7 separate regions of the Homo sapiens genome follow, and regions 1, 2, 3, 4, 5 and 7 are each linked to region 6. The links are contacts of gene promoters, found by promoter capture Hi-C in blood cells and fetal thymus (Javierre and others, 2016). All regions are on one chromosome and are shown on one strand. The core of a region is centred on a gene start or on the middle of the fragment in contact, and the rest is flanking DNA. Distances in the headings are between cores, read along the strand shown.

Region 1 (2,718 bases), core at 62-2,561, 490 kb before region 6:
TTAAATCCATGTAGGCTAGAATCCTTCTCATACTTCTTGTACTCAGTATTTTTTTTTTTGCGCTATTCTCCTTAGCAGCATCTAATACCAGTTTTCCCCTTTGGAGGTTTGCCCAGTGGTGCAGTTAGGGAAATAATGATAATGATTCTGCCTCGTGTGTGTGTGTGTGTGTGTGTGTGTGTGTGTGTGTGTGTATTATAGCTCAGTCTATAAGGGAACGTGCAATCTTTAACTTATCTGACCTCTGTTTTCTAACTTGTAAAATACGATGAATAATAATCACCTTATCTATCTCCTGGAATAGTTGTGTGTCCAAATTAGAATGTGACTAAAAACACAATTAAAGTGCTATATAAATAAAATGAATCATTCTTATACTCATCATCAAAGTCCTTAGCGGATGTCTTTCGTGTGACTTTTAAACCCATTCTCCCATTGCTTCCTATAAAGTAGGAAATCACCCAATGAGAACTCCTTTTTTTTTTTTTTTTGGCATTAGCCTGTGAATCATAGACTTATTTCTTCTAAAGTGACAATTAAAAGCAAAGAGAAAGAAAGCCCAACTGCATAAACACATCTATTTATATTTTAAACTGAAAGTGCATTCACCCAAACCACAAAACCCCAAATCAACTTTTAGCTCCTTCCGAGGCCATGTCCAGTCCCTGGGCTCTCCCGGAGGTGAACTGCTGGGAAAGTGTGTGGGCTTCAAGCCCAGGATCGACTCAATGGCTTCTTCCTCTCCCCTCCCCACGCCTTCCCTCCAGCACACCTGTTTGCAGAACTTCTTCCTCTCTTGCCCAGGCATTTTGATTCTGGTCACGACCACCTGTGAAGGATGACGCAGATTTAGCCCTACGCACATCCTTGCCTTGTTGCTGTCTTCAGGGTCCCAAACTGGGTTGATTCACCCCACAGGACATTATTTTTAGCCTTTATCTCTTAGTGGTTTTGTTTTCTTTCCGCCGCCTTTTGACCTGAGAGCTGGAAATAAAGTCCGCCTTCCATAAAGACGAGAAAGTTGTCAGTCATTTCCTTCCTGCTCACATGAAAGGCCGGCCCAACGGAGCTTGCAGAAGACGCTGCAAGTTCCAGTTCACTGGGTCCTGAAAACACCCGCACTTTGGGAGTGAATTTCATTTCTTCCGTGTAGGCTAAGAAGAGAGGTTGCCTGGGCTAGGCAGCTGTTCTTTCAAAGGGTCTTGAAGATGCTCAAGGGAAATGCAATAAAAGAAAACCACATTTTCCCTCTCCTTTTGATCATGGTTGCTGAACCCAAACACCTGGGCAGCCTGCCTACTTTTAAATATTTGAAATAATTAAAAGAAATTCACAGGCAAAACGAGAAAGTATTGCTTTCAGCATGAAATCATATCACACTATAACATCATTGGACAGAAAACTTAGTTTTTACTATGAAATAAAATATGAGAAATTGCTTTGCAAATTTTGTAAAGTGCTAGGTATATTAAAGATCTCGAAAATTATAGTTTGTTTTTTCTGATTCTGAAATGAATATATATGTATCTATATATATTCAAATGAAATAGAAATATATAAAAATAGAAAAATATATGAGCATGCAGTATCTTTTTCAATATCGGAATTCATTTTTGGGCTATTATAATTCAACCACTTGCCTATTGATATTATTTTTGGAGAGGTATTATCAATATTAGTGCCACTAATTTCCTCCTACATTTATGAGTGAACTTTTCTATCATTATCATTCAGATTAAATTCTAAATGTGTAATTACTGACTCAAGGCATACACAATTAAATTAAAATTAAGTTATAGCTGATGAATGAAAATTATATATATTTATGGTATGCGACGTTTTGATATATGCATACGTCGTGAAGTGGTTAAATGAAGCTAGTTAACATCTCCATTACCACAATATACTTACTTTTGTTGTGAGAACATTTAACATCTACATCCTTAGCAGTTTTTCAAGTACACAGTATATTATTATCAACTACAGACACCCATTTCTCCAGGAAGACAGTACCAATTTACAGTTTCTACAAAGGTGTATATAAATTTCCATTTTCTCAAACTCTTGCCAACAGAGGGTTTTGTTTGCCTGCTTCTCAATCTTTGTTACTTTGGCTGTCCTATTTGTTATTGGGTAACTTGAGTATCTTTGTGTATATTTGTGAGCTATTTAAATCTGTCTCTCATGAATTGTTTAATCCTTTCCCATTGTTTTTTCCTGTGAGGTTATCTTTTACTAATTGATTGATAAGAATCACTTTCCTATTGGGTATTAATTATTTTTCTCTTATATATGCAAATATCTTCCCAGTTTGTCACTTGCATTTTTGCTGCCATACAATGTTTTTTTCCTTTGTTTTTAAGTGGCTAGGCATATTCATCTTTTCCTTTATGGTTTCTGCTTTTTGTGTTGGATGGCATTTTCTGTCACTGGATATGAGGCTTGCTTCTAGGCAGGCTTTGGAGCTGGACAGACTAACTTAAGCCTCACTTCTGTCTCACATTGGCTGAGACTCCAAGAGGACAAATCAGTTGCCCAGGTCTGTGTATCGGGATAATAATCCATATTTCACAGTGTTGTTTAATAACTAGTAGGCTTAGGGGTCTAGAGCTCAGGACTAGGCTTGTCATAAAGGAGGGGCAGGGTGTTAGTTTCCTTTCTCCCTCTTATCTTCAAAATGAACTGGATACTGATTTAGTTCCTCTAAAGAAGAGAACA
Region 2 (2,700 bases), core at 124-2,623, 470 kb before region 6:
ATCTCATAGTTGTGTGAGGGCTGTTTAGCCATCTTCCTTCCAAGATCTTCTTAATCTTCCTTTTCTCCTTCCTCTCCACCCTCCAAATCAGGATGACCTCATAATTATTCTTTTTTCTTGCACCATCAGTTGTGAAATTTCCTCATTAAAAACACTAGCAACAAATAGATAAAGACAGAGAAGCACCTTCCATATAAATCAGTAAAGATGAAAAAGCATAATTAGTGGCATGATGTGGTTTGGCTCTGTGTCCTCACCAAAATCTCATCTCAAATTGTAATCCCCAGAATCCCCGCATGTCAAGGGAGGGACCTGGTGGGAGATGATTGGATCATGGGGGCGGTTCCCCCATGCTGTTCTTGGGATAGCGAGTGAGTTCTCACGAGACCTGATGGTTTTATAAGTGTCTGACAGTTCCTTCTTCACACACACTCCTCTCTCTTACCTGCCGCCATGTAAGATGTCCCTGCTTCCCCTTCCACCATAAGTTTCCTGAGGCCTCCCCAGATGTGTGAATCTGTGAGTCAATCTCTTTCCTTTATAAATTGCCCATTCTCAGGTATTTCTTTATAGCAGTGTGAGAATGGTCTAATACATGATCTGTCTGAAATCCTGTTTTCTCTTCTGTTCTTTCGGACACCATAGATTTGAATACAAGCTCGCTTTGGAGACAGAACCTGTTGCTACTACTTTTGTAAGATAACATTTGTTTGCTAAGACTCTGATTCTGTTCTACATATAGTTTTATATTTTCCTTGCAGTCCTTAAGAATGCTGTGATGAGTTATAATAATAGCAATAAAAATAAATCTGCCAATTGTTGAGTTCCTTTCCCTGGTTGTTAATTTTGATAACCTCTTTAACGCAATGACCTCCTCTATACCACTTTCAATGACTGTACCTTGGGCCATGTTGACAATTCGAGTTGTTCCACTTCAGAAACCCAGAGTTCCCTCTCTCTAACTCTGATCACTTAGCTTCTGGTTAACTCCTAACAGGAGCTCCTATTATACCTGTTCTTTGGTCCTCTCATGACCTCTGGTCCTTTGAACATTTCTATCAGTTCCCTCTGGTCTTTACTTCTCTTCTTGCTTAGCTTAGCTTCACACATTTCATTTCTTGACTCACTTTTTTTGCCAGTATCCTAGATACCTTTGCTCTGGTTGTCATTGTTTTGTTGTTTGACCTCATGTCCACAAGACTGAGTTGTTAGTATACGTATGGTTAATCCAAGCAAGCTTCCTTCTTCCTTTAATCACATTTTTATTATTCAATTATTTTCCCCATCCTCCTCCATCCCTGATCCATTAACTCTTCTTGACATATGGCATCTGTGGATTACATTAGGGGATATTGCCTCAATCCAATTTCCACAGTTGTATTTTGACTTGAATATATCTAACCACCTATTAGATTAGGGCCATTCCTTTTGCTGTTTTCTCTACCTAGAACATTCTGCCTTCAGATTCCTAGAGAGTTTTCTCCTTTAGTTAAGTGTCATCTCATTAGCAAAGCTTCTCTGAACACTGTATTTAAAATTGTAGCACATCTTATGATAACTTTTGAGGACAAGCATCTCTCCATGTAAATAGCCTGAAAATGTAAGAGGAATGGAATAGTTAATTAAAACATGACATGCTCATAGATAAAATATAGGTAACCATAAAGATATGTAAATAAAGTATATAATTCTAAATATGCTTGGGATACTAATGCATGCATACATATATAGCTACTTCCATATATATATATATTTTTTTTGAGACGGAGTCTTGCACTGTCGCTCAGGCTGGAGTGCAGTGGCACGATCTCGGCTCACTGCAAGCTCTGCCTCCCGGGTTCACGCCATTCTCCTGCCTCTGCCTCTGGAGTAGCTGGGATTACAGGCGCCCGCCACCACGCCAGGCCAATTTTTTTTTTCTATTTTTAGTAGAGACGGGGTTTCACCGTGTTAGCCAGGATGGTCTCGATCTCCTGACCTTGTGATCCGCCCGCCTCAGCCTCCCAAAGTGCTGGGATTACAGGTGTGAGCCACCGTGCCTGGCTTCCATGTTTTTATACACAGATACGTACCAAGAAACAGACATACCTGCATTCAGGACTCTGGCTACATAGTTGTAGGGCTCTTTGCAAAATAAAAATTTGAAATCTCTTTTTCAAAAATTATTAAGAATTTCAAGACGGTGATAGGAGAGGATTAAACCAAGAATGGGATTCTTCTGAGTGTGTGGCCCTATCTGACTACACAGTGTATGCTCATAAAATCAGCTATGGATGAATATGTTGATGACAAAATTACTACAAAAAGATACGTTCAGATATTTCTTGTAGCTACCCTTTTTGATAGCATTATGGATGTTTATTATTTTTTTCCTACTACTTTTTGATACTACCTACAATTTTCTCAATGGCCATGGGTTGCTTTAATAGTCAGAAACAAGTCTGGGCATGGTGGCTCACTCCTGTAATCACAGCACTTTGGGAGGTCGAGGCAGGCAGATCACTTGAAGTTAGGAGTTCAAGACCAGCCTGGTCAACATAGCAAAAACCTGTCTGTATTAAAAATACAAAACATTAGCTGGGTGTGGTGGCATGGGCCTGTAGTCCTGGCTACTCATGAGGCTGAGGCAGGAGGATCGCTTGAGCCTAGGAGGTCAAGGCTGCAGTGAGCCAAGATCATGTCACTGCACTCCAAAGTAAG
Region 3 (2,963 bases), core at 84-2,583, 360 kb after region 6:
TTATGACAGGGACCTTCTGGCATGTAAGGCCAAAGATACTTATTATCTGGCCTTTTACAGAAAATTTGTTGATCACTGATCAAGAAACCATAATAGTGAATCAAACCAAGGATGAATAGCTTTCTAAAACTACATATGTGTCTCTAATTTACCAAATCACGCACTCCACAATTCATAACTTATGGTGGGCAATTGTGGGGGGGCAGCAGGAAAAACTGTCTTCACCATTTTTCACTATTTGGTCTCTATAAGAAATCATTACCTGCCCCCTTCTGCCCTTTAAAAATCAGTAACTTGCAAAGGAATTGAGAAATTTTAAAAGTCTATAAGGTCAAACACAGCTCTCTTTCATTGAAAGGGATTAAAGAGCATAAAGTTACAGTTAAGAGGAGTAAAATTAGGGATCTATTGCACAGGATGGTAACCATTGTTAATAATAATGCAATGTATATTTCAAAATTAATGAAATAGTAGATATTAAAGATCATTCAAAAAGATAAGTAGGTGGGCTGATGGATATATTAATTAGATTTATTTAATCTTTTGATAATGTATACATATATCAAAATATCACATTGTACCCCATAGATGTATACAGCTATTTTTAGTCAATTAAACATTTAATAAAAATTTTAAGAGCTAGACTGCCCTATAGTACTGAGTATTTGAAATAATCTTTTGATTGCCTGTTTAGCATCACTGTTATCTGAAGCTGTTCTTTGCTTTTTGAATGTGCTAAGCTCTTTTCATACATTGGTTAAATATTATTGTAAGAAATATAATTTTTGAGTAGGTATTAAAACTGGAATCCCTTCTCGCAATTATAAGGGGAAAATCCATAGCAACAAAATAGCCTAAGTCTTTGTCTGTTAATTAAATGTAAGTTAATGGCTGTTTAGGAAAACAAAAAATGCCACCTGGGATAGAAAATTTAATTAGCTCCAAAAGAACATAAGTCAAAGACTTCTGCATTAGTTTTCTGTTGCTGCTGTCACAAATTACCACGAAGTTAGTGGCTTAAAACAACACAAAATTTATTACCGCATGGTTCTGCAGTCAGAGTCTGACATGGGTCTTACTAGGCTCAACTCAGGGTGTTGACAGGGCGGCATTTCCTTCTGGAAGCTATAGGGCAGGACCTGCTTCCTTGCCTTTTCAGCTTCTAGAAACAGTCTGCATGGCTTGATTCACAGACCCCTTCCTCCACCTTCAAAGAGCTCCTCATGTGACAATCACTGTGACCTTCCTTTCTGACTCTTTTCTACTTTTACAGACCCTTATGATTATGTTAGGCTTGCCCAGAGAATCCAGGATAATCTATTTTAAGATCAGCTGACTTGCCACCTTCAATCCATTTGCAACCTTAATTTCCGTTTGCCATGTAGTATGTATCCTACATATGTTACGATGTGTAGTATACTCACAGGTTTCAGGGATTAGGATATAAGCATCTTTGAGGGCCATTATTCTGACATCCACAAGTCCAATTGTAGTATTGGTCTGGGAGGGAATGAGTGGGTGTACCCCATCTGAAGACCATTCTCCTTTTTCTAAGAAATTCCCCATTGTCTGAATCTGGGTAAAAACCAGAACCCCAGTTCCCTTTCTAGAAACGCCACTCCTCTCACCCTTGACAGCTAGAGCACAAGCCAACCAGCTGCACCCACCCTGGACTTTGAATCTTGGCAGAGCACTTTAATTTTATGGGGATAAACATTATTCATGGTGACAGTGGTAATAGTTGCTGTGAGAATTGTGAGGTGTGTGGCAAAGGCAGCAGCACCAGGACTTTAGATGTGATGGGCTTTAGCATTTAATGGCGGCAGTACCAGAAGTGTGGTACCACCAAAAGTCACCTAACGAGAATGTTCTCGGGGTGACTGTGCCCATGCTTCTTCCACCTTGGGCAATACTCATATTTCTTGCCTACATTGATTGTCAGTCATTTTTGGCACCTGGTTCTCTAAGCTGTGAACTACCCATATCCCTGTAATTCATTTCTTTTCTTCTTAAATTGACCATAATCAGGTTCTGTGGATTGTAACCAAGAATCTTTATTGTAACCAAGAATATTCTTTTGAGTAAGATCCTTCAGGAAATTTTTATTTTCAATGGCTTGCTCTCTGTAAGAAAGCCTGATTTATAAATTAGGAAACTTGGAGTAAAGAACAAGTTGTCAGAATACTGGCACAGCTTCATTGGTCAAGTAGGAGCTAAGACAGCTGATAATCTGGTAGGAATGCCCTTTATGCAGATGACAGGGGAATCAATATAGAAGTCTTAGAACAATGGTAGAACTAGGCTTTGGTTGGGCAATCTTGATAACTGAGAAGGTAAATTTAGAATGTGAAATACAGCAGCAGAAGACTAGGGGAGAAAGATTACTTTTTTTAAAAAAATTATACTTTAAGTTCTGGGATACATGTGCAGAACATGCAGATTTGTTACATAGGTGTACATATGCCATGGTGGTTTGCTGCACCCATCAACCCTTCATCTACATTAGGTATTTCTCCTAATGCTATCCCTCCCCTAGCCCCCCATCCCCCGACAGGCCCAGGTGTGTGATGTTCCCCTCCCTGTATCCATGTGTTCTCATTGTTCAACTCCCACTTATGAGTGAGAACATGCAGTGTTTGGTTTTCTGTTCCTGGGTTAGTTTGCTGAGAATGATGGTTTCCAGCTTCATCCATGTCCCTGCAAAGGACATGAACTCATTTTTTTTTGGTATGGCTGCATAGTATTCCACAGTGTATATGTGCCACATTTTCTTTATCCAGTCTATCATTGATGGGCATTTGGGTTGGTTCCAAGTCTTTGCTGTTGTGAACAGTGCCGTAGTAAACATATGTGTGCATGTGTCTTTATAGTAGAGTGATTTATATTCCTTTGGGTATATACCCAGTAATGGGATTGCTGGGTCAAATGGTATTTCTGGTTCTAGATCCTTGAGGAATCACCAC
Region 4 (2,700 bases), core at 113-2,612, 460 kb after region 6:
GCAAGTTGTCATGACTAAGAAGGTATTCTGGGACCTATACTCAGTAAAAAAACAATAAGCCACTCTCAGCCTAGATTTTCTTCTTTGGAGGACTTGGCCGCCAGTGTCATTTGCAACCAAGAAAACTTTTATAGGTCTGTTCTTATCAGAGCCTTCCTTTCATGAACAGGCAGGTCAGTCAACTCATCTTCTTTTCTCAACAATTTAGTGAAGTCAGAAAGACTGAAAGACAAAGCAAAAAGAAAGCCAGAGTTACAGTGTTTTAGATAAGCTAAAGCATTTATTGTTTCACCATAGCGGTGGCTGATGCAGATATATGTAGCTAATATCTTTAAAATTCTGGTTGATTCCCTTTCTGGTTGGTTGCATACCTTTCCCAGTGTAACTTCTCAGTGGGAGTAAATGATGTTCATCTAGACCAAAGATGCAAGCTATCATTTCTGTTTCCTTCCCACATAGGTATTTGTCTTTGTTTTGCAAGATTTTCTTTCTCTATCCCTCAATTTAAAAGGCAAATTCCTTAAAAATCCATGGACAATTTCAGGTGTATAGTGCATGGTTCAATTGCCCCAGAGGATAATGTTGAAGTTGCTTTGCAGAGGGGTGCAAGAGAAAGGGGGGTGTAATCCAAGATAATAGTAAAAGCCGATAAGCATTGCCATTTCAGGAAACTCTGCCACATAACTTGGCAGTTTGAAAATTTAGCCAACCTTTTTATAGGGAGGTCATTAAATTCCAGTATTTCATACATATTGTGCTTCAAAGCAGGCAGGTATTCATTATTTTTACTTCATTTTGTTTTATTAAAATAAATGCTTCAGAATACCTTATGCAAAACAAAATCCAAATACATTTTTGAAAACACATGTATACTTTGCTTCTAAACTAGAAAAAACCATATTGCTGGTTTAGGTGACAATTCAATAGGAAGTGAAATTTTTTAATCTAATACATTTTTAAAAAGCTGAGAGTTTACTAGTTTCATATGTATTTTGCCACTAAATCCCTCTTCATTAAGGATATTTATTGCAAAATAATCATCTTTAGAAAAAGGAGGTAGATGTCTTGATTTTGAAACTGAACGATAACATGAAACTGAATAACATGCATAACCTTTACATTTAGAAACAAATTGCTATAATTGCCTCTTGAACAACAAATAAGCAAAAATAACATTAAAATTAAAATATTGTAATATTTCTTTTAAAATTATTTTCCTTTTTTTGAGACAGTCTCACTCTGTCACCCAGGCTAGAGTGCAGTGGCGTGGTTATGGCTCACTGCAGCCTGGACCTCCTGGGCTCAAGTGATCCTCCTGCCTCAGCCTCCCAAAATGTTGAGATTAGAGGCATGAGCCACCGTGCCTGGCCTTGTAATATTTTTCAAAAAACCGCTTCTTAAACCAGGAAGAGAAAAAGATATGCATCATAATTCAGAATGCAGTGTGTCAAATGACTTAATTTTATTTGATCTGCAGCAGAAAAATGTAATTTCTTATTTGAGATTCTTTGATGTTGCCATTTCACTTTTGCCTTTCTTGTTGGCTAATAGCTGGGAATTATTTCCTGGAAAAGTATCTGATCCATTAAGGAAAGAATATGACCATGTTTCGTGGAAATTAAAAAGTAATGTAGACAAATATTCATAGAAGATACAAGTGTGACCCTAAAGTTAGTATTTGAATGTTGTTCTCCTATTTCTGATTTTATTGACCCAAAATATCAAGCTAGGTTTATCCATGTTTGCGTGTAGCATTTTAATTACTTAGCCTAAGAAAAGATGGAATTGAATTTCAAATGTAAAGCAGTAGGAAAAAAAAAGAGAGATTTCTCTTTAGGTTTTCAAAAATGTATTTCTTGGAGCTTCTTGATTTTGGCAGAATGAGCAAAAACAGGACTGAGAGGACTGAACTAACTATTCTTGTCGTTGAATGTGGGAGTTATTTCTGTTTGCTTCCTCTACAAAATCAGTTTCTCCAACCACATCTTGAGAAGTTTTCCTTTGCACAACATGTTTGACAAATTGCCAAGCAAAGGCATTGAAGAATCTCGGCTTCATCCTACAACCTTTTTCTTCATCTCAGAACCTTCAACCTACAACTTTTTCTTCATCTCAGAACACGTCTTAGAAGATATGAGTCTCCAAAATAGCAGAGGGGAATGTTTTACTTAAAAAATGTGTGTGAGATCACTGTACATAAAGTTATTCACATGATAATGGATACAGAACTCCATTGATGAAAAACGTTAGGAATTTTCTCATATATTTAAATGTTTGATAAGTTATTTTCTTTATTTTGGTGACCAGAATGCACACAAATGGTTGCATAATTTATGTAGATATATGCAAAAGCTCTGCCAACAGGTACTTGTGGGAGAATCAAAGTCTGCTCTATCCATGCATTCCTTTTACATTCCTTTTACTTCCACCTCCACTTCTTATTTCTTTCTTTTTTTTTTTTTTTTTTTTTTTGGAGACGGAGTCTCACTCTGTTACCCAGGCTGGAGTGCAGTGGCACAATCTTGGCTCACTGCAACCTCCACCTCTCCACCTCCCGGGTTCAAGCAATTCTCCTGCCTCCGCCTCCCGAGTAGCTGGGACGACAGGCCCACGCTGCCACACCCGGCTAATTTTTTGTATTTTAGTAGAGATGGGTTTTCACCGTGTTGCCCAGGCTGGTCTCCCAAAGTGCTAGGATTA
Region 5 (2,700 bases), core at 141-2,640, 440 kb after region 6:
TCTATCAGCTTTTAAATTCCCAAAGAACCCCACAGTAAATGTGAATATAAACTTCCCAGTGGTCTAATTCTTCTTTAATAACATCCTCCAGTATGTTATTTTAGGTTGCCTAACCGAGACAGTGGGGTATAGAGGTTGAAAGGACAGCAAAAAATAGTAAAAATTAGAGTGGAAACAAGTGGGAAAGTATTGTTGGAATTATCAGGTCATGTACCTAACCCTTATAACACTGAAGAACTTCAGGTACACACACTGGGGCCTGTTGGGGTGTGGGGTGGGGAAAGGAAGCATTAGGAAAAATAGCTAATGCATGCTGGACTTAATAACTGGGTGATGGGTCGATAGGTTCAGCAAACCACCATGGCACACATTTACCTGTGTAACAGACCTGCACATCCTGCACAAGTACCCCAAAACTAAAAATTAAAATTAAAAGAAAGATAAAAGAACCCAGGTAGTGATTTTTGGTTTTAGCACCATCATTTGACATACTTATACAATGAAAATCCAATGAATACCTCACTCTCTGTTTCCCAGGAATCTTCATGAGGAAGGTTACTCCACCAGCACTTAGGTCCCTGATTTATAAAGATACTATCAATTATGTTCCCACCCTTTCAAGATGGGTGCTCAGAAAGAAATTTCATGCCACGTGGTTATAGCACCACACTCTGTTGCTTTGTTCCGGGATTTAGTATGATCCCTCTTTATTCATTGCTCTGAACCAGACCAGGTGTCATATTAAGGACCTTAGATATACTGCAGGAATCTCTCTCTGTCTTGCTCTCTTTCTCTTTTACACACACACACACACACACACACACACACACACAATTCAAAACTGAGATATTCCAAGATGAACACTAATAAGTAATAGAGACATGATGCAAAGATACCTTAAGTGGAAGGGGATTTAAAAATGAGAGGATCAAAGAGGCAAGTGCATAAAAGAACTGGGTAGAGAGATAGCAGGGGAGTGCAGGAGTAGTCCTGCCACCAGACGTTGTTTCAGCAGCTGGATTTCACACATCCTTCTTTATGACATTACAGGACAGTTCAATACCCAATGTGAAAAAAGTCTAAGATCATTTTCCAATCTAGCCTTATTGGTTCCCATATGTACTACATCCATCTTCAACATCCAACATATTATTTTCTGAAGAGTCTAGGAAAATGATTGTCCAGAGGATGGATGGAAAGAAAATTTGTTCTCCTATCTTTATAGTTCTCAGAATTACTATTTATTTCAAAGATTGATCATCTGTGTTTTGAGACTGCTGTTTACCAATGACAAACAAATGTATTTTCCCCATTTTTCCTAACTGCAATTGTTTAAACAAGCATATCATTTCCTTGTATATGTTGTGTGTCTTTAGTTAGTTTTGTAATAAACTTCCTGAATCACAGTGATAACATGACTCATGACAAGACAGTGTGTCTTTTATTGTGTTGGGGAATTTTAAAGTTAGAAAAATCAATCATTGCTGAAATAAAGAGACATTAATAGAAACTAGGACTTTATGTCTTTATAATGCTTTGGTAGTAACAGATCACAAATTAAAATGTATAAATATCATTCTACCTTTTAAAGGTCTAAAACAAAGGAAGCCTGATACAATTTTGGAAGTCTTTCTGAAAGTGTACTTTTTTTTTTTTTTTTTTTTTTTTTGAGACAGGGTCTCACTCTGTTGCCCAGGCAGGAGTGCAGTGACGCCATCATGGTTCATTGCAGCCTCGACCTCCTGGGCTCAGTTGATCCTTCTGCCTCAGTCTCCTGGGTAGCTAGTACTACAAGCGTACACCACCATGCCAGGCTAATTTGTTTCTTAAATTTTTTGTAGAAGCGGGGCCTCACGTTGTTGCCCAAGCTGGTCTCAGACTCCTAGGATCAAGCAATCCTCCTGTATTGGCCTCTCTAAGTGATGGGATTACAGGTGCAAGCCACTGTGCCCAGCCTTGAAGTATAAGTACCTTTTAGAAATAAATGCAAATACATCTTATTTCTTGGGATTCTGTATAATGCCAAACTAATATACACAACATAGACTCCTTTCAGGCCAATTTATGATATAAAATATTTTAGAATTCTTCAGGATTTGAATGAAAAAGAATGAAGTGGAACTATCTAAGACAGAAAATTTTTTAAAAAAATCAAAGTTTGGGTAATGTTTAGAGACGCGTGTGTGTGTGTGTGTGTGTGTGTGTGTGTGTGTGTGTGTCTTCCACTTTAATCAGTCTCTATGCATTTTGCTTCCAGGACAGGAATCCAAACTCCAAGATTCCAGGGAAAGGTCTATTTAGGGGAATGTTTGGCCACTTTAATAAAAATAAAAGACAGATAATCTCATAAAATAACACTTTTATATGAAATTTCCACCATAGATTTTCAGCCCAAAGAAGCTGAGATGAGCTGCCCAGCGGTCTGCATTTTTCCCCATTTTTTTCTACACGAGGGTGGGTGAGGAAAGGGTGGCCACTGGAATTATTTGGAACAGTAACTGTCACAGGATTCTCTTTCCTTTCCTCTTCCTTTGCAGCCAACTTTTTTTTTTTTCACTCCGGATTCTATCAACATCTAAAATCCCCAGTACCTCTGCTTTGTGACTTGGTATTCTGGAATTTTACCAACTGTTTGCCCCTCAACCATCGTGGAAGAATATCTTTATTTCTTGGAAGAGCGAAGAATGACGTACCGCTCAT
Region 6 (2,778 bases), core at 53-2,552:
TGCTTACCTGAGATTTATGGATGAATGAAAAGATAGGTCCCTTGGAGAGTTCAAACTCTTCTGCAGATATTGTGTAACAGATTGCAAAATAGGTCTTCCTATCAGAATATGTATACCTTAGTGACAGCTATGAGTTTGGAACACGAATTATCTATCTGTGGTAGGTGTTGTCGTTGTTGCTATTATCATCCCCATTTGACAGTTGAGAAAATGGAGTTGCAGAAAGGTTAAGCAGTTTCTCAGTGTCACACAGCTAGTAAGTGGCGGTGCCAACATAGAAGTCCACTTCCTCAAGTGTTCATGCTTTTAAAAATGGAAACAAAACTCTAACAACCGTCAAACAGCAACGATTGTCAGAACCTAGAAAAGGCCTCTTAAATTTGCAGTGTTAACCAAGCCTGATGTGGTTCCCTAGATCCCCTGGCTGCCACCGCTCTGTGAAGCAAAGGAAAAACTAATTCCTTGCTAGCATAACACTTCTATTGAGCATTCCTGGACACAACTCCCCCAGGTTCTGAAGAGCCTAGGGTTGCTATTTGTTTAGTTCCCCATGGCTGCTTTTCACATTTTCTGGATCTTTCTCTTGATTCTAGCATTATAAGTCTACCTCTTCCCTGATCACTCACTTTTCTACCTCCTGGAGAGCACTGACCACGGGATCACCTCACCATTTTATTTAACCCATTAGGACTCAATGCCAGGCAAAACCTATACCACAGCCTGCATTGTATTCACCATCTCAGGCTCGAGCTCTGATTCCTGGGGTTGAGGAAAGGAAGACTTTCCAACCCCAATTTCTGCCATCCATGTTGATTAGTCAGAGGGCTAATCAACTGTGAACTCATGTTCTTTGGAACTAGGCAGCACAGGAAAAATAATCATTAAAGGTTTGGTAAATAAAAGACTGAATGGATGCTTAGCTACCTGTCATTATCCTGTCTCGCTTTTCGTCAGCATGCAATCCCAATCCTCAGCTGTTAAGATGTAGACAAAGAGTTCTGATGAAAGGGATTTATTTGTACTATTCCAACAGAGTCTGAAAACTAGCAGGAGCATTTCCATAGGTCGTCTCTCAACAATCCTGTCTGTAAATATTTGAGTCACTTACAGGCATTGTTGAGCATAGTTCTGGCCCAGCAAATCTTCCTCCTTTGTATCCCTGATCAAGTAAAAACTTAGTCAGGATATACTTGGGTGACCTTCACACTGTACCTCCTCCAGAGGTACAGAGGTGGTGACGTAATCACTGCCACAGCTGACTGGCTATGGCTTGCTTGATAAGACGCCAGGGGCTACCTATGTAGATTCCCAGGGAGGAACTGTAGGAACAAACCGGTGTCAATGGTTAACCCAGGTTCTTGGTGTCTGGAGCTTTTCTTTCCTTTATTATTAACTAAAGAGCATTCTCTACCATTGCCCAGCTGAAAGCACCTAGCTCATAGATTCTCTGTGGGGAGAGTGAATAAAGGTAAGTGCTATTATTGCTATGGATACAATGTCATTCAGCCTATGTTTTGCTCTTGCTGGCATCTGTGTTTGGGGAGCAGCAACACTCTGTTTCCAGCAAACGTAAATATTAATGATCAATTAAATGCAATTAAGATAATTTAATTTTTTATCCAAGTGCTTTAAGTAGGAATCAAACAGTGTGTCATATTCCTTAAGTTATTTTGAAGCTTTGGTTAAAAGTAGTCTCACATTGGTGTTTACAGAGTCTGTTAAACAGCCCTTGCCTGCTATTATATTTGTAAATGTCTAAAAGTGGCTTTATTATATTCATACCACATGGAGTATTCTGCAATGTCTTTCAAAACCAGATTTTTGCATCCTGTATGCACTTATGAACATATAATTGCAAATATTGAAAAATATGTATTTTATACCCCCCTCTTAAAAAGCTCAGAGAAAATACACGTTAACTTTTTTTTATAGTTGTCTATAATCATTGAAAGGAAATAAGAGATCTATTTTTTCTAGATTTATTTTAACATAAATTGAAAGTGAAGAATTTTCTCCTTTTGTTTTCACCTTAATCCCTCTAAAGCTTTTTTTTTTTTCTTATCATTTAAAAATCTTAAAATTTTGTTTTGAGTATTTAGTCAGAAAAGTGTGAGCTTGTAAAACTTTGCTCTCTGGATGCCACGAATTCTCTGACATATATAATTGAACAGTTTTCCTTGTTGGTATATTTAGGTAGTAAACAATAACATTTCTATAAGCCAGATGAATTTTGATCATGTGTATTACATGGACTGAATGGTCTTTAGAAAAAGAGTATTGGAGTATTTCTGCTAAATATTACTCTTATGGCTAGTAAGAGCCAGATCCTGAAGAAGAAAAAAATGTATGAATGCACCTTTGTTACTTTAGTATGGGAAATGTAGACTAGCCACTCTTTATGTCAGATTTTAACCAATAAAGGAACATGAAGTACCCAAACCACAGCTGTTTTGCAGAATACATTTAAGGAATTCCTGAAATTCAGCCAAAAAGAATTTAAAAGTGAACAAGGTCCAGAGTTCAATTCAAATCAAAAGAGAGAGAAAGAGAAAGAGAGCCTGAGTAACTTAGAGATGTAATCCTGCTTGTTTATTTTTAGAACACGATAATTGTGATAAATCTAAGATTATTAGTCTCATATACAACAAGACTGACAACCTTTGAAACTGCAAGAAAAGACTGCTTTGGGAGAGGAATTCAATATTCTATTTTAATGCATTTTTCTCAACAAGAATTTCAGCATGAGAGAGAACAAGAGTCTTCAAGGATATTGAAAAA
Region 7 (2,700 bases), core at 80-2,579, 480 kb after region 6:
TTTTTAATGACTGAATATTCCATTCTATATTATAATTATATATAATGGAGTAATATGTATTTATAATATAGTTGTTTATATATGTGTGTGTGTGTGTATATATATATGTGTGTGTGTGTGTATAGCCATTATGGAAAGTAATATAATTATATATGTATATATAAAATCACATCTATATGTAAAACTTTTTATTTCTTTGTTCAGTCTTGTAGGTTATATGTATCCAGGAATTTACCTATGTCCTTTAGGTTTTCTAATTTGTTATTTTACATATATATATATATATATATATATATATATATATATATATACACACACACACACACACACACACACACACACACACATATATATATATATAAACATTTTCCTTTTCCATTCACCTGTAGATGGGCATTGAGGTCATTTCCATATCTTGGCTGTTGTAAATAGTGCGGCCATAAACATTAGAAGCCTTGTCTTCAGGTTCAGAAATTCTTCTTTTTGATTTAGTCTCTTATTAAAGCTATTGATTGTAATTTTTTTTGTTTTTTATTATGTTTTTTGGCTCCAAGGTTTTTGTTTAGTTCTTTTAAAGGTATCTATCTCATTGTTGAATTTTTCTTTCAAATCACGAATTTTTTCTTTTTCTTTTTTTTGAGATGGAGTCTCACTCTGTCACCCAGGCTGGAGTATGGTGGCGCGATCTCGGCTCACTGCAACCTCTGCCTACCGGGTTCAAGCGATTCTTCTGCCTCAGCCTCCCAGGTAGCTATGACTACAGGCGCGTGCCACCATACCTGGCTGATTTTTGCATTTTTAGTGAAGACAGGGTTTCACCATGTTGGCCAGGCTGGTCTGGAACTCCTGACCTCAAGTGACCTGCCCACTTCAGCCTCCCAAAGTGCTGGAATTACAGGCATGAGCTACCGTGCCTGACCCAAATACCCAAATCATTTTTTTTTTTTTTGCTCTATTTTCTATCTGTATTCTCTTGTATCCTGTATAGTTTCCTTAAGATCATTCTTTTGAATTATTTTTCTGGCATTTCATGAATTTTCTTTGGGGTCTGTCACTAGAGAATTATTATGTGTCTTTGAAGCTGTCATTTTTTTTTTTTGCTTGTTTATGTTTCTTATGTCCCTATGTTGATATCTGCACATCTGGTGGCAAACTTGTCCCTTTCAGTTTTATGGAGTAGCTTTTGTAGGAAAAGACTTATTCCTGTAGATGAGCTCTAGCATATTGGCTGGGTAAGATGCACTGGTTTTGGTTCTGGGTTGACACAGTAATATAGTTTAGTTTTCATGCAATTTCTTAGGTTATATTTTATGTTAACAAGATATTTGCAAGTGTCTAAGTGGCCTAGGCTGTGGAAGTTTGTGATCATGGTGGTGTAGCTTTGCCAGCTGGCCCTACTGGGCCTACTGGGCTGATTCTCAGGCCACAGACATGTAAATTCTCATCAGAGTAAGGTCACTGAGATATTTCCCTTACCAGGGGTACAGACATGCAGACGTGTGGCAGGGTATCCAATTCAGAGGAAAGGCCACATTGGATGCGTTTGCTAGGCTGTTTCTCTGGCTGAGAACATAAGGATGCAGCAGCTTGGCCCCTGGGGAATGAACTGAGTGCTGGAGGTGGGTCGGCCTGCTACCCTAGCCCAAGGTGTGGGCACATGGTAGCTTGGCCAGCTTGGAGGAAAGTTGAACTTATAAATATTGTGACATCCAAGATTTATTTTTATTTCAAAGGATTAAAATTAATAGTTGTAACAGTCCACTGTGAAGTAAAAACTACCCAAATATTTATTGACAATAGAATGGATATATAAATTGTTGTCTAATCATACATTAGAGTAATATCCAACAATGGCAGTAAATTATTTGTAATTGTATGCAACAACATGGACGAATCTCAAAACATCATGTTGAGTAAAAGAAGCCAGACTCAAGAGTGTACATATTGTATAATACCCCTTATAGAATAAACAAAGTTGTGCAAAATTACTCTTTGCTATTAAAGGGAGAAATGCTAGTGACAGAAAGTGATCATGAGACATTTTCTTTGATGCTACTTAAGTATATGCATTTGAGTATATGCATACATATTTTAAAGATGGCATCTAAAGTGGTCTTTCTAAAACAAAAATATAATCATAAAAATCTCATGCCCAAAAAGTTTATACTCTAAAAGGCTCACCATTTCAAACAGATAACATCCGCCTAATCTTTAACATGGCTAACCCAATTTTTCATATCGACTTCTCTGACTTCTCTTGGCTTATCTTTCTTTTGGATTCCTTACCCAAACCTTTATATATTCATGTACACCTCACTAATTATCCACAGTTTTCTTATTATTCATTAAATTCCCCACTTGGTCTCCTTCTTACATGTTCTCCCCAATCTGGTTAGAGATCTCTCCTACTTCCTCCCAAAGCACCATGTGTTTCCTTCAGCTTAGCAGTTACCACATTCCTTGGTAAGTACTAATCAATTTGTATGTTTACCGGACTCAGACTGTGACGACAAGGACCTTATTTATCCCCACTGTAAAGTCTTGTGCCTGGAATACAACCGAATCTGAATATCTGTTTTCTGTATAACTAATTCTATCATGGATGAGATTTTTATAATTATTAATGTGATGTTTCTTCTTTTGCTATTTTATTTATAAGGCTTTTTGTCTTTATGAATGTACAATTGGGACCTCTGTTTG

The links. The method cuts DNA at HindIII sites, captures the fragments that hold promoters and counts their contacts. A CHiCAGO score of 5 or more calls a contact.
Region 1: a contact is called between a fragment that was not itself captured here and the fragment with the promoter of KCNJ16 in region 6, in 2 of 17 cell types (M1 macrophages and M2 macrophages). The highest score is 7.4, in M1 macrophages.
Region 2: a contact is called between a fragment that was not itself captured here and the fragment with the promoter of KCNJ16 in region 6, in 1 of 17 cell types (M2 macrophages). The highest score is 6.2, in M2 macrophages.
Region 3: a contact is called between a fragment that was not itself captured here and the fragment with the promoter of KCNJ16 in region 6, in 1 of 17 cell types (neutrophils). The highest score is 6.3, in neutrophils.
Region 4: a fragment that was not itself captured here is called in contact with the fragment with the promoter of KCNJ16 in region 6 in 1 of 17 cell types (neutrophils); the score reaches 5.7 in neutrophils.
Region 5: a fragment that was not itself captured here is called in contact with the fragment with the promoter of KCNJ16 in region 6 in 1 of 17 cell types (neutrophils); the score reaches 5.4 in neutrophils.
Region 7: a contact is called between a fragment that was not itself captured here and the fragment with the promoter of KCNJ16 in region 6, in 1 of 17 cell types (monocytes). The highest score is 5.7, in monocytes.

The regions. Positions count from the first base shown.
Region 1 is chr17:69,580,737-69,583,454 of GRCh38, forward strand. No RefSeq gene overlaps it. Among named protein-coding and RNA genes, the nearest start is that of LINC01483, 12 kb to the right of the region's middle. The HindIII fragment of the contact is 4,683 bases long and covers 1-2,718 here.
Region 2 is chr17:69,599,240-69,601,939 of GRCh38, forward strand. All of the region lies in intron 2 of LINC01483 (long intergenic non-protein coding RNA 1483), which reads left to right. Among named protein-coding and RNA genes, the nearest start is that of LINC01483, 6.6 kb to the left of the region's middle. The HindIII fragment of the contact is 276 bases long and covers 1,236-1,511 here.
Region 3 is chr17:70,433,615-70,436,577 of GRCh38, forward strand. No RefSeq gene overlaps it. Among named protein-coding and RNA genes, the nearest start is that of KCNJ2, 270 kb to the left of the region's middle. The HindIII fragment of the contact is 8,246 bases long and covers 1-2,963 here.
Region 4 is chr17:70,537,340-70,540,039 of GRCh38, forward strand. No RefSeq gene overlaps it. Among named protein-coding and RNA genes, the nearest start is that of KCNJ2, 370 kb to the left of the region's middle. The HindIII fragment of the contact is 8,674 bases long and covers 1-2,700 here.
Region 5 is chr17:70,516,620-70,519,319 of GRCh38, forward strand. No RefSeq gene overlaps it. Among named protein-coding and RNA genes, the nearest start is that of KCNJ2, 350 kb to the left of the region's middle. The HindIII fragment of the contact is 6,123 bases long and covers 1-2,700 here.
Region 6 is chr17:70,073,923-70,076,700 of GRCh38, forward strand. KCNJ16 (potassium inwardly rectifying channel subfamily J member 16) reads left to right here and starts at 1,303. Exons shown (of 4, transcript NM_170741.4): 1 at 1,303-1,468. It overlaps LOC105371881 (a long non-coding RNA gene), which reads right to left and starts at 885. Exons shown (of 3, transcript XR_934952.3): 1 at 1-885. The HindIII fragment of the contact is 12,238 bases long and covers 1-1,674 here.
Region 7 is chr17:70,556,575-70,559,274 of GRCh38, forward strand. No RefSeq gene overlaps it. Among named protein-coding and RNA genes, the nearest start is that of KCNJ2, 390 kb to the left of the region's middle. The HindIII fragment of the contact is 5,974 bases long and covers 1-2,700 here.